2 separate regions of the Homo sapiens genome follow, and region 1 is linked to region 2. The links are contacts of gene promoters, found by promoter capture Hi-C in blood cells and fetal thymus (Javierre and others, 2016). All regions are on one chromosome and are shown on one strand. Each heading gives the region's core, a stretch centred on a gene start or on the middle of the fragment in contact. The rest is flanking DNA. Distances are from core to core; before and after follow the strand shown.

Region 1 (5,212 bases), core at 1,142-3,641, 250 kb after region 2:
GGGAGGCTGAGGCAGGAGAAACGCTTGAACCCAAGAGGTGGGGGTCGCAGTGAGCCGAGAACGCACCATTGCACTCCAGCCTGGGCAACAAGAGTGAAACACCGTGTCAAAAAAAAAAAAAAAGAAAAAACCAACAAAAATTAGCCAAGCATGGTGGCATATGTCTGTAATCCCAGCTACTCAGGAGGCTGAGGCAGGACAATCGCTTGAATCTGGGAGGTGGAGTATGCAGTGAGCCAAGATGGTGCCACTGCACTCCAGCCTGGGTGACAGAATGAGGCCTCCTCTTAAAATAATAGGCCAGGTGCGGTGACTCACGCCTGTAACCCCAGCACTCTGGGAGGCTGAGGTGGGCGGATCACGAGGTCAGGAGTTTGAGACCAGCCTGACCAACATGGTGAAACCCTGTCTCTACTAAAAATACAAAAATTAGCCCAGTGTGGTGGTGCATGCCTGTAATCCCAGCTACTCAGGAGGCTGAGGCAGGAGAATTGCTTGAACCCGGGAGGCAGAGGTTGCAGTGAGACGAGATCGTGCCACTGCACTCCAGCCTGGGTGACAGAGCAAGACTCCATCTCAAAATAAATAAATAAAAATTAAAAAAAACATATAATAAAAATAAAAAATTATTTATTTTTACTTTTTTTTTTCTTTTGTAGAGACAGGGTTTTGCCACGTTATCCAGGCTGGTCTTGAGCTACTAGACTCAAGTCATCCACTCTTCTCAGCCTCCCAAAGTGCTGGGATGACAGGAGTGGGCCACTGTGCTGGGTTTTCTTTACTTCTTTTTCTCAGATATCTCATGCCCTAGTATGGCTTCCCCTTCTCCTAGGCCTGGGAGCAATGGCTTTAATAGTAACCACTGTATTTGCATTTTGGAGGACTGCTCCTAAGAGCTGTTTTTATTTAAAGAGTCCCAGCAATCAAATACAGATTGGCTGGCTAGCTCCCACGTTTCCACACAATTCCCTCCTACTTAAGCTCTCTATGTTTACACACAGGACATCTAACTGCTTGTTCTGGTCAAGGTACAGCTTTCCGGAGCTCTGAGAGACGGAAGAGAAAGGGTTGGTACGTTCTGCAGGTGAATGGTGGTCTGCTGAGAGAGAGACAGACAGAGAGACATAGTCCAAGGTAACAGGAAAGCTTCTGGCACTGGTGCCTGTGCAGTCAGTGGTGTCACTGCCAGGACAGGAAATAGAGGTAGAGCAGGTTTGGGGGAGGGGAAGAATGATAAGTTCAATTTGGGACCTTTATTCATTAGCTCCTTGGGCATTACTAGGTGGCAGGTACTGTGTCAGGAACAACTGTGAACAAAAGAAATAAGGTCCCTGCTCTCCTGAAGCTTACATTCCTGTATGGGAAGGACAACTTAAATAAATCAACAAACTAACTGCAGAAGCCCTGGTTCTATAGTCGTGTGACAGACTGCGCTGCAAAGGCGGCCAGGAAAGTCTCCATCTGGGGGAGACCTGGAGATTAGAAGATGTCAGGTTGAGTATGACAATGACCCAGTGACATAGGCTGAGAGAAGCAGTTTGGATATCTAGGTCTGGGCTGGAGATGATCAGAAAAGAAGCAAAAAGCATACTGCAAAATATACGCAGCATATACTACTACTTATAGGGAGATCAAAAATCCACATAATGATAATGATTATTAATTATTTGAGACAGAGTCTCGCTTTGTCGTCCAGGCTGGAGTGCAGTGGCAAGATCTTGGCTCACTGCAGCCCCCGCCTCCCGGGCTCAAGCGATTATCCAGCCTCAGCCACCCAAGTAGCTGGGATGACAGGGGTGCGCCGCCTCGTCCGGCTAACTTTTGTATTTCTAGTAGAGACACGGTTTCGCCGTCTTGGACAGGTTGGTCTGTAACTCCTGGCTTCAGGCGATCCGCCCGCCCGCCTCGGCCTCCCAAAGTGTTGAGATTGCAGGCGTGAGCCACCGTGAGGGCCTCACTGATTATCTAAGGCTGTTTAGATTATAGATTTTTAGATTATGTTTTTGTTTCCCTAAACGGGGTGGTGAGTACAGAGGTGTGAGATGTAACACGTAATTTGTACACCTTTTGCACACGTAAATATCACAAAGTAAACTTTTAAAATAAGGCAAGGCCTAGGGCCTCGCGAGGCTTCTCTGAGGAGCGAGGACCAGTCAGTCACAGCCAGTTTCCACTGCCTCCACGCTCCGGCCTAGGCCAGCCCCTCTCCCCAGTCATTCGCTCGGGGCTGGCTCCGCCCCAGAACTGCGCAACCTCCCCGCCCACATCCGCGTCCTAACCAATGAGCGCTCGAAATTTGGGTCCACACCCCCGTCACGCCCCGCCCCAGACTCGCGCGCCCGTGACGTCACGGTCCGGCCCCCGCCACGTGACGGCCGCGCGCCGGGCTCTAGCTCCCCGCCGGGCTCGCGCCGCAGAGGCCGGTGAGGCGCCGGCGGCCACGCCGCGGAAGGCGCGGGCCGAGCAGAGCCGGGCGTTGGAGCCCGCGCGCGCATGGAGGCGTTGCCGGCAGCCCCCTGAGGGCAGCGGGGAGACAAGACCCGGCGACCTCGCGCATCCCTCGAGCCGCCACGCGCTCTCGCCACCGGGCGGCGACGGGCCGCGGAGCCGGCGCGGCCATGGCGACGGGCGGCCAGCAGAAGGAGAACACGCTGCTTCACCTCTTCGCCGGCGGGTGAGTTCCCGGGCCCAGCCGCGCGCGCCCCACCGCCTGCGGTCCCCTCGGCCTTCGCCCCGGGCGCGGCCCCAGCCTCCCGCGGCGGTTACCGGCCTTCCCCGGGCTACGGCGCCGGCGCTCGGGAGGAGGAAGTCCCGGCGTCGGGGACTGGTGGGCAGGGCCGAGGGAGGGGGTCGGGCCTTCCTCACCCCTACGTCCTGACCGCAGCCCCGAGGGCGGCTGTGCCCCGCCGCCCGTCCTCCCCGCGGCGTCCCCAGCTTTTCCCCATTCTGAAGAGTCAGTGGCCGGTGAGTGGTGCTCGGCGGCGGTCCAGCCTGGACGCTGTGGCGCGGCCCCCCCTCCCCCGCCCCCTTCTCCTGGGGCCTCTCCCGAAGCGCAGCGCCTCAGAGCCCGTGGTAGGATCGCTGATGCTCGGGTGTGCCCGAGGTTCCTCAGGGCAGCGCGGGAGGTCATCCGGACGGGCAAAAAGGTCTGCGGACGTTGGACGTCAGCAAGGCCTGGGTGGTGCTGGTGAACGGTGATGCTTGCGGCCACACGCGGGGTGGCTAAGCCAGGGACCCGAACTCATATGAGGTCTGGAAGGTGTGTTGAGACACTTCTCGCCGGCTGGTAGACGCTTCCAACGCCAGAGACCGCAGAATTGTAAGGTGTTCCTTGTTTTGAAAGCTGCATTAGGTCTATGGTCAGGCACCTTTTTTCCAGCGGAGACAATGCATTTTTAGGAGGTTGAGTTCTGCGGTTAGGAAGGGAGATGGTACCCCTCGCCACCTCCCCTTGTCACCTCCCGCCGAGAATAGAAGGTAAAATATTTTTGAGTATTAGTAATTTTCTTTTTTCCTTTATCACAGCCGGTGGCTTGGGGTCCTTTCGGAGTCTTACAGATATTTGGAGTATTAATTTGAGGACCTCATCGGCCTGGCACAGGAATTTTTGAGTGTAGGATATTTTGCATAAAATAGTTTATTCTGGGATGATCATCTTGGCTTGAGTAGTTGCAGCCTGGATTCCTACCTGGATATGTTCCTTACAACAAACAATGGTTGAGAAACTTATCTTGGAAGATGACTGATGAAAGCGTCCCTGAGCTTTTTTTGTACTTGTATTGTGGGCAGTCACCAGGTTACTTTAACCAAAAACTTCGGTGGGTCTTCATAGATTGGAAGAGTTTCTCATTCATCTCTTCCCTGTCATTCATTCCCTTGCAACCCTTCCCTCCATGTCTCCATTGAGACTTCCTTTTTTTTTTTGAGAGGGAGTCTTCCTCTGTCGCCCAGGCTGGAGTGCAGTGGTGCGATCTTTGGGCTCACTGCAACTTCCGCCTCCCGGATTCAGGCGATTCTCCTGCCTCAGCCTCCCGAGTAGCTGGGATTACAGGCCCCGCCACCAAGCCTGGCTAATTTTTTTTTTCTTTTTTTTTTTTTGAGACGGAGTTTCGCTCTGTAGCCCAGGCTGGAGTGCACTGGCGCCATCTCAGCTCACTGCAAGCTCCGCCTCCCGGGTTCACGCCATTCTCCTGTCTCAGCCTCCCGAGTAGCTGGGACTACAGGCACCCGCCACTACGCCCAGCTTTTTGTATTTTTAGTAGAGACGGGGTTTCACCGTGTTAGCCAGGATGGTCTCGATCTCCTGACCTCGTGATCCGCCCGCCTCGGCCTCCCAAAGTGCTGGGATTACAAGTGTGAGCCACTGCGCCCGGCCACGCCCAGCTAATTTTTTTGTGTTTTTGCTAAGAGGCGGAGTTTTGCCATGTTGGCCAGGCTGGCACTCCTGACCTCAAGTGATGGCCCACCTTGGCCTCCCAAATTGCTGGGATTACAGGCGTGAGCCACCATGCCCGGCAGAGACTTCCTTTCAGAGTAACACAAGGGGGAAGCATTCTTAAATTAAGCCACTCTATATAAATTTGTCTTTCTTGGGAATTTTAAACAACTTGGCCATTTTTTTTTTTGTCTCACACGTTTTTTAAGCCAAGAAGGATCATTTAAAAAAAAAAAAAAAAGGAATTTCTGCTCAGTGATTTTGACTTACTGTTTTTAGTGAGGTGGGTTTTTGCTTTTTGTTTTTTTTCAGACGGAGTCTTGCTCTGTCTCCCAGGCTGGAGTGCAGTGGCGCCATCTCGGCTCACTGCAAGCTCCGCCTCCTGGGTTCACGCCATTCTCCCGCCTCAGCCTCCCGAATAGCTGGGACTACAGGTGCCCGCCACCACGCCCGGCTAATTTTGTATATTTTTAGTAGAGACGGGGTTTAACCGTGTTAGCCAGGATGGTCTCGATCTCCTGACCCCCTCTGCCCACCTCGGCCTCCCAAAGTGCTGGGATTGCAGGCATGAGCCACTGCGCCCGGCCAGTGAGGTGGTCTTTTACAATTTTTCTTTGTATTCCAAACCAGGAGAGTTGCATGCTGGAGCAGCCTCTGTTGAGGCTCACTGTGAGATGGATGGCCCTGTCTTGTTGAATCTCCCTCTGTACCCTTCCCTGTGCCCTCTGGCTGCCAGATTCTCCTCCTAGGGCACCAGCCTTATACCTTGTGATGGAG
Region 2 (5,912 bases), core at 1,257-3,756:
CTGCCCAGCGTCCTGGAGGAGAGAAGGCCCACTCCCCAGGGGTTCTTCTGGGAAATTTAGGTCAGCAGGGTCTAATTATTCAACTGGATCAAGAGCTGAGATTTCCAGATTAACGCCGAAGGGGGGTGGGGTGGGGGTGCTGAAGACTTTTCATCAGGAACTGTCTTTCAGGGCCTTAAACATCAAAGCTGGGTCTCTAGCTCCAAAGTGCCCCAGTCTGCCCTGGAAGCTTCCCAGATGTTAAGAGGTGAGGCTTGGTGGAGTTCCTCTTAGCAAAGCTGACAACACCATGGCCCCAGGCCACGTGGCCGTAGCACCAGCCCCATGAGATGCCAGTGTCTGGTAGATGCCACACACACAGTGAATAATCCACCAAACAGGGCTACTCTCCCAAGGAGAAATGAACCCATCAGAGGCAGCTGTGATTTTCAGCAATGACTGACGTGGGCTGCACCCCATGGGCCTGTCCCAGAGGCTCTCACCAGTCTCCCAAGTAAACAACAGTTCTCAAACTGCAGAGTGGCTGGAGGGGGTCATATGCTCTTTTAAAATTATTATTACCTTTTTTTTCTTTTTTTTTGAGATGGAGTCTCGCTCTGTTGCCCAGGCTGGAGTGCAGTGGTGCGATGTCGGCTCACTGCAACCTCTGCCTCCTGGGTTCAAGAGATTCTCCTGCCTCAGCCTCCCGAGTAGCTGGGATCGCAGGCACGTACCACCACACCCAGCTAATTTTTGCATTTTCAGTAGAGATGGAGTGTTGCCATGTTGGCCAGGCTGGTCCTGAACTTCTTTTTTTTTTTTTTTTTTTTTTTTTGTGAGACGGAGTCTCGCTCTGTCACCTGGGCTGGAGTGCAGTGGCGCAATCTCGGCTCACTGCAATCTCTGCCTCCCGGGTTCACACCATTCTCCTGCCTCAGCCTCCCAAGTAGCTGGGACTTACAGATGCCCGCCACCACGCCTGGCTAATTTTTTATATTTGTAGTAGTGACGGGTTTCATCGTGTTAGCCAGGATGGTCTCCATCTCCTGACCTCGTGATCCGCCCGCCTCGACCTCCCAAAGTGCTGGGATTACAGGTGTGAGCCACCAAGCCCAGCCTGGTCCTGAACTTCTGACCTCAGGTGATCCACCTGCCTCAGCCTCCCAAAGCGCTGGGATTACAGGTGTGAGCCATCATGCCCGGCCAATTATTATTATTATTATTTAATTTTTGTGCAGAGTCTGTGTCTTGCTCTGTTGCCCGGGCTGCTCTTGAACTCCTGGGCTTAAGTGATCTGCCTGCCTCAGCCACCCAAAGTGTGGGGATTAAGGGCGTGAGAGCCACCACCTCCAGCCTCAAGTGATCTTTTAAATGGGAAGCACCCCTAAGCTGCTGGCCATGGCTGCCCACCTGACTAGTCTGGGTTCAACATTCCTAAACCGCTGGCACCTGGAAAGTCAGAATGCCCACTCAGGCCCGCCCAGCCCAGGGCAGTTGGTTGAGTCTCCGTAATCCTATTCTGAGTTCAAACAAAGCTAAACCAAACTGATTTTCAGCACCGTAAAATGAGAGACATCAAACTTTGTAATCTCACAGTTCAATTGGGTTCCAAGCTCTGGACAGCTGGCCTCGGGCCAGGCACTGTTTCCTCGCCTTTACAGTGAGTGTGTCATTAGTCCCACCCTCACTGTACTGGGTTATGGTAAAGACACAGTAACTACGGAAGCCCCGCTATTTGTTTCGGCTCCCCCAGAAAGGCTAACTCCTCACCGTTTTCAATGGACACTACACAGCGAGGGGTGGGGAATGCCAGGAGATTTTGCTCTCAAAACAGCAAAGTCTTTAAAATCTTCCCAGTCCCAAGTGACTGCTCTGTTCGGGGAAGGGGGAGGAAAATTCCTTGAACGAGCTAGAGCCACAGGACAAGTCCCCAGAGGCTGGGACCTGTTCAGGGAGCAGCCCTGCGGATGCCAGGTGCCCGCGCCCTCAGGGTCTCGAGGTCCGAGGCCCCCGTCCCCGTGGGCACCGAAACGCGAGCGGCCGAAACAGCGCTGCAGGAGGCTCCCTGGACCCCCGGCGGCTGCCCACTCGTCCCCGCTGGGCACTTCAGAGGAGGCCGGCGAGGCCTTGCTCGGGGTTCCTGGGACAACCCCACTCTCCGCGAAGATTTCTCCTTCTCGTAAGACCCCCGCCCCCACTCCAGCCTCCCACGGCTGCAACCCAGGCCCTGCGCCACGCGTTTCCCAAAGACGCCTCCGGAGGGACCCGAGCTTCGGGCCGGCAACACCAGGGCGGCGGCTCGGGAGAGGGCTGCGGACTAAGGGGGCGGAGGGGGCGGCCGAACCAGCGCCGGGCTGACGCGCCCCGCGCCCCGCGCCCCGCGCCCCCGGCCTTCCCTGCAGTGCTGAGTGGTCCGTGCGCCCGAGGTCGGGGGCGGGGCGGGGCGGGGCGGGGCAGGGACGGCCCCGCCCACCGGCGCTTTTCTCTTTTTTTTCACTTTAAAGCCGTCGGTTGCTTTTTCTCCTCCGCACAGAAGTCGCGCTCGGGCAGCCTGCGCGCTCGCAGCAGGAACCAGGCTCCAGGCGCCGGCGCCGGGGCCGGGGCCGCGGGGAGGAGGCGACTTCGCTCCCTGCGGCGGGCGCGGCCCGGGCGCCCGAGCCTCCTCGGCCTTGGAGAGCAGCGGCGGCGGCGGCACCCCGGGCGCGGTAGGCGGCGCGGGGCACCTGGGACCCCGATGGGTGGGCGACCGGCCCGGGAGGGGGAGGCGCGGGGGGCCGGGCGAGGGCGGACGCGGGGATCGCGCCGCTGGGGGACCGAGTGGGTGGCGCGGGGCCGGGCGCGGGGGAGCGGGTGGAGTACGGGATGGGGACTCGGGGCGCGGCCCCTCCCGCGGTGGCTCCGGGGGCGCCTCCCTCGCCGCGGCTCCTGGGAGAGGGGCCCAGGCCCGCCCCGCGCTGCCGCCGCTGCAGGGCAGGGGGTCCCGGGGCGAGGCGCGGCGGGGGTCTCGGGGCGCGGGGACCGTCGCAACGAGTTGCGGTCCCGAGGAGGGGCTGGGGCGCTCCGGGGCCGCCGACCCGTCCCCCCTTTAGCCCGGGGAAAGCGGGACCCCGCTCGGCTGAGTTAGTTTCGCTTTTCCCGCCAGTCCGAGTCGGGATTGGCGGCGCGGCCCGGTCCCCCGTCGGGGCGCCCCCACCCTCCCGCAGCGCCTCCCCCAGGGAGCCTGCCGGGGACACCCGAGCGCCGCCCTCCCCGCCGCCCCGGAGCCGCCGCGGCTTCTCCCAGCAGCGGAGGGAGAGCCGGAGGGTTGTCAGGAAATCGATTAAATCAGAAAAACAAGGGCGGCCTGGGCCCGCGGGAGGAACCGCGGATGGGTCACCGTCCCCGGGCGTGTACTGGGCTCGGTGGCGTCCAGGTTCCGGTGAGGACGGGACGGCCCCGAGAGGAGGGTGCGGGTCTGCAGGAAGAGCGGGTGTCTCTGAGAGTGCATCTGCGTGTGTGTTTGTGCATGTCCTTGTGAATATGTGCCTGCGTATGAGTGTGTCTGTGTGTTCATGTGGGTGTGTGTGTGAGTGTGTCTCTAAGTGCATCTGTGTATTTATGTGCCTCTGAGTGTGTGTGTGAGTCTGTGTGTCTGTCAATGTGTGCCTGAGACTCTAAGTGACTGTGTGTGTGTGTGTGTGTCTGAGTGCGTCTTTGTGTATTTGTGTGTGCCTCTCTGTGTATGTCTGTGTGTCTTTGTGTGTGTCTGTGTGTGAGTGTGTATGTGTCTTTGGGTGTGTGTCTCTGCAAGTTTGTGTCTCTGAGTGTCTGTCTCTGCAAATGTGTGTCTCTGTGTCTTTGTGTCTGTGTGTGTCTTTGCGTGTGTGTGTCTTTGTGTCTCTTTGTGTGTCCACACGTGTCTCTGTGTCTGTCTCTGTGTCTGTGTCTCTGAGTGCGTCTGTGTATGTGTGAGTGTCTGTGTGTCTCCAAGTGTGTGTCTGTGTGTCTTTGTGTGTGTTTCTCTGTGAGTGTGTGTGGGGACCATCCAGGGGGCCCTCTGGTTCCTAGGTACTGCTCCTCATGGTGATTTCTTTACTTGGTTCTGGATAGCCGGGCATGCTGGGCCACAGACACCCCACTAGGCAAGCCCTGCTGGTGCCCCCGAGGAGAGCGCAGGCTCTTCCTCTCTCCATTTCTCTGAAAATGAACTACACAGTTTGGGGGTGAGTTGGCAGGGGCTGCTTCCTGAGTGAGTAATATTTAATTAAACACTCCAGTCTGTAGCATCAGAAACTGGTCATGAGTTGAGTTTTAACAGGTGTTCATGGTAAAAGCGCCATCCCTGGTGACTAAGGTTTGATGTCCTTGGAAGAATTTTCTCGTTGGGGGGGCTGGGCCCACAACTTCATTTCTCATCGTGGGGTGTGAGGAGAACAGCAAGCAAGGAAGGGGATGGGGGCCTCTCCCTTCTGCCCTGTCCCCCTCCTCAGACCCCCCTCCCAGTGGTGGAAAGCCCTGGGCTAAGCATGGGCAGCACAGGTGGTCTCTCCACACTGAGGAATTTTGGAGTCAGGGAAGTCCTGTCTTACTGTCTAGGCCAGCCTGTCCTAGAGAGGCCCAGAGAGGGCGGTTCACTTACCCAGACTGCACAGCCAGGGCTGTGGACCAAGACTCCCCAGTCCTGAAACTGTTGCTCTTGGTTACTGTCCCCAGCACTGAGGTCATGGGCCAGGCACTTCGTGTCTCCCCAGCTGTGAAGTGATGGGCTGGATTAGATCATTTAAAGCACTCCTGCTCTCTTACAGCTGCTTTTCTTCTGCAGGGAGCACTTTACCCAGTAGATGGAGTGTGTGTGTGTGTGTGAGAGTGTGAGTGTGTGTGTGTGTGTGTGTGTGTGCGCGCGTGCGGTTGGGGAGGTGTGGAGTGGACTAAGGCAATCACTTTACAAGTCTTCCTTTTCCAGTCTGGCTACCACCCTAGCAGCAGAGAAAACAAAAGCAGTAGCATGTTGGCCCCAGTGGCTCAGACAGCCCCGAGCAGGGAGCAAGGCGGGTGCCATGCCGGCTTAAGAGAGACCTGGCCCTGGGAAGAATCAGTGGGTTTCAGGGCTCTTAGGAAGGGGTGGGCCTGCCTGGGGCCCTGGTGATGTCACTTTGGAGCTGGGTGAGGCCGTTTCTTGGGCTGCTGTAGTAAGGCTGGATCCACCCTTCAGTGGGTCCCTCTGGGCTGCTGCAGAATCTCACCCCCTTGGAATCATCACAGATGTTGAATTTCTTCACCAGAGCTGGGGAATGGGGTGGGGGCCTAGCCCGTGGAAGCCAGCGCTGCCCTCCCACCCCCATGGTGTGTGCCGTGCTCCCTTCCTGCACCTGCCCCTCCTCCTGGGTGGATGGAAACTTGCCTGCAGACGCATTTTCAAATTCAGCGAAACCTCTGATTCTTACGGTGTTCATGAGTTCGTCTGGGCATTTTGTATCAATTTTTCTCGAGAAATAGGTTGTAGCTGGTGTGCATGACTCAGTGTATCTTTTGGTTCTGAAAAATTTTATCAGACGACAGCACAAGGTCAGGTACAGGTGTGCCTCAGTCTGCCCAGGGGTGTGTTATCCTCTCCCCAGCCCTCAACACTAGATCAGTGAAATCCAGACTCTAAGGGACTTCGATTTTGGACTTTCAGTGAGTGCTCTCCCCTCCCCCAGTTATCTGATAACATCTCCCCCAGTCTAAAGTTCCACTGGCAGCCAGGTGCCCGGCTCTGTGCTACAGAGTGCTTTATGGACGTGACTTTGTTTGAATCCTAAGCATAATAATAGCGGGAAATGGTTTCATGGTTTCACGGTGCGTGCGAGTACTGGCTCTGATCTGAGTCCTTGACGCATTGACTCATGGGCTTCCTGAGGACCCTGAGAAGTGGGTTTTGCCTCCATGTCCATTCTGCTGAGGATTGCAGGTAA

The links. The method cuts DNA at HindIII sites, captures the fragments that hold promoters and counts their contacts. A CHiCAGO score of 5 or more calls a contact.
Region 1: a contact is called between the fragment with the promoter of SLC25A33 here and the fragment with the promoter of SPSB1 in region 2, in 10 of 17 cell types (fetal thymus, M1 macrophages, non-activated CD4 T cells and 7 more). The highest score is 8.8, in fetal thymus.

What each region holds. Positions count from the first base shown.
Region 1 is chr1:9,537,074-9,542,285 of GRCh38, forward strand. SLC25A33 (solute carrier family 25 member 33) reads left to right here and starts at 2,392. Exons shown (of 7, transcript NM_032315.3): 1 at 2,392-2,674. The coding sequence starts at 2,619. RefSeq lists silencers at 2,148-2,667, 2,688-3,047 and enhancers at 2,157-2,451, 3,118-3,247, 4,273-4,772. The HindIII fragment of the contact is 15,144 bases long and covers 1,344-5,212 here.
Region 2 is chr1:9,290,388-9,296,299 of GRCh38, forward strand. It overlaps SPSB1 (splA/ryanodine receptor domain and SOCS box containing 1), which reads left to right and starts at 2,507. Exons shown (of 3, transcript NM_025106.4): 1 at 2,507-2,684. RefSeq lists silencers at 2,172-2,341, 2,392-2,471, 2,542-2,611, 3,152-3,441. The HindIII fragment of the contact is 6,551 bases long and covers 228-5,912 here.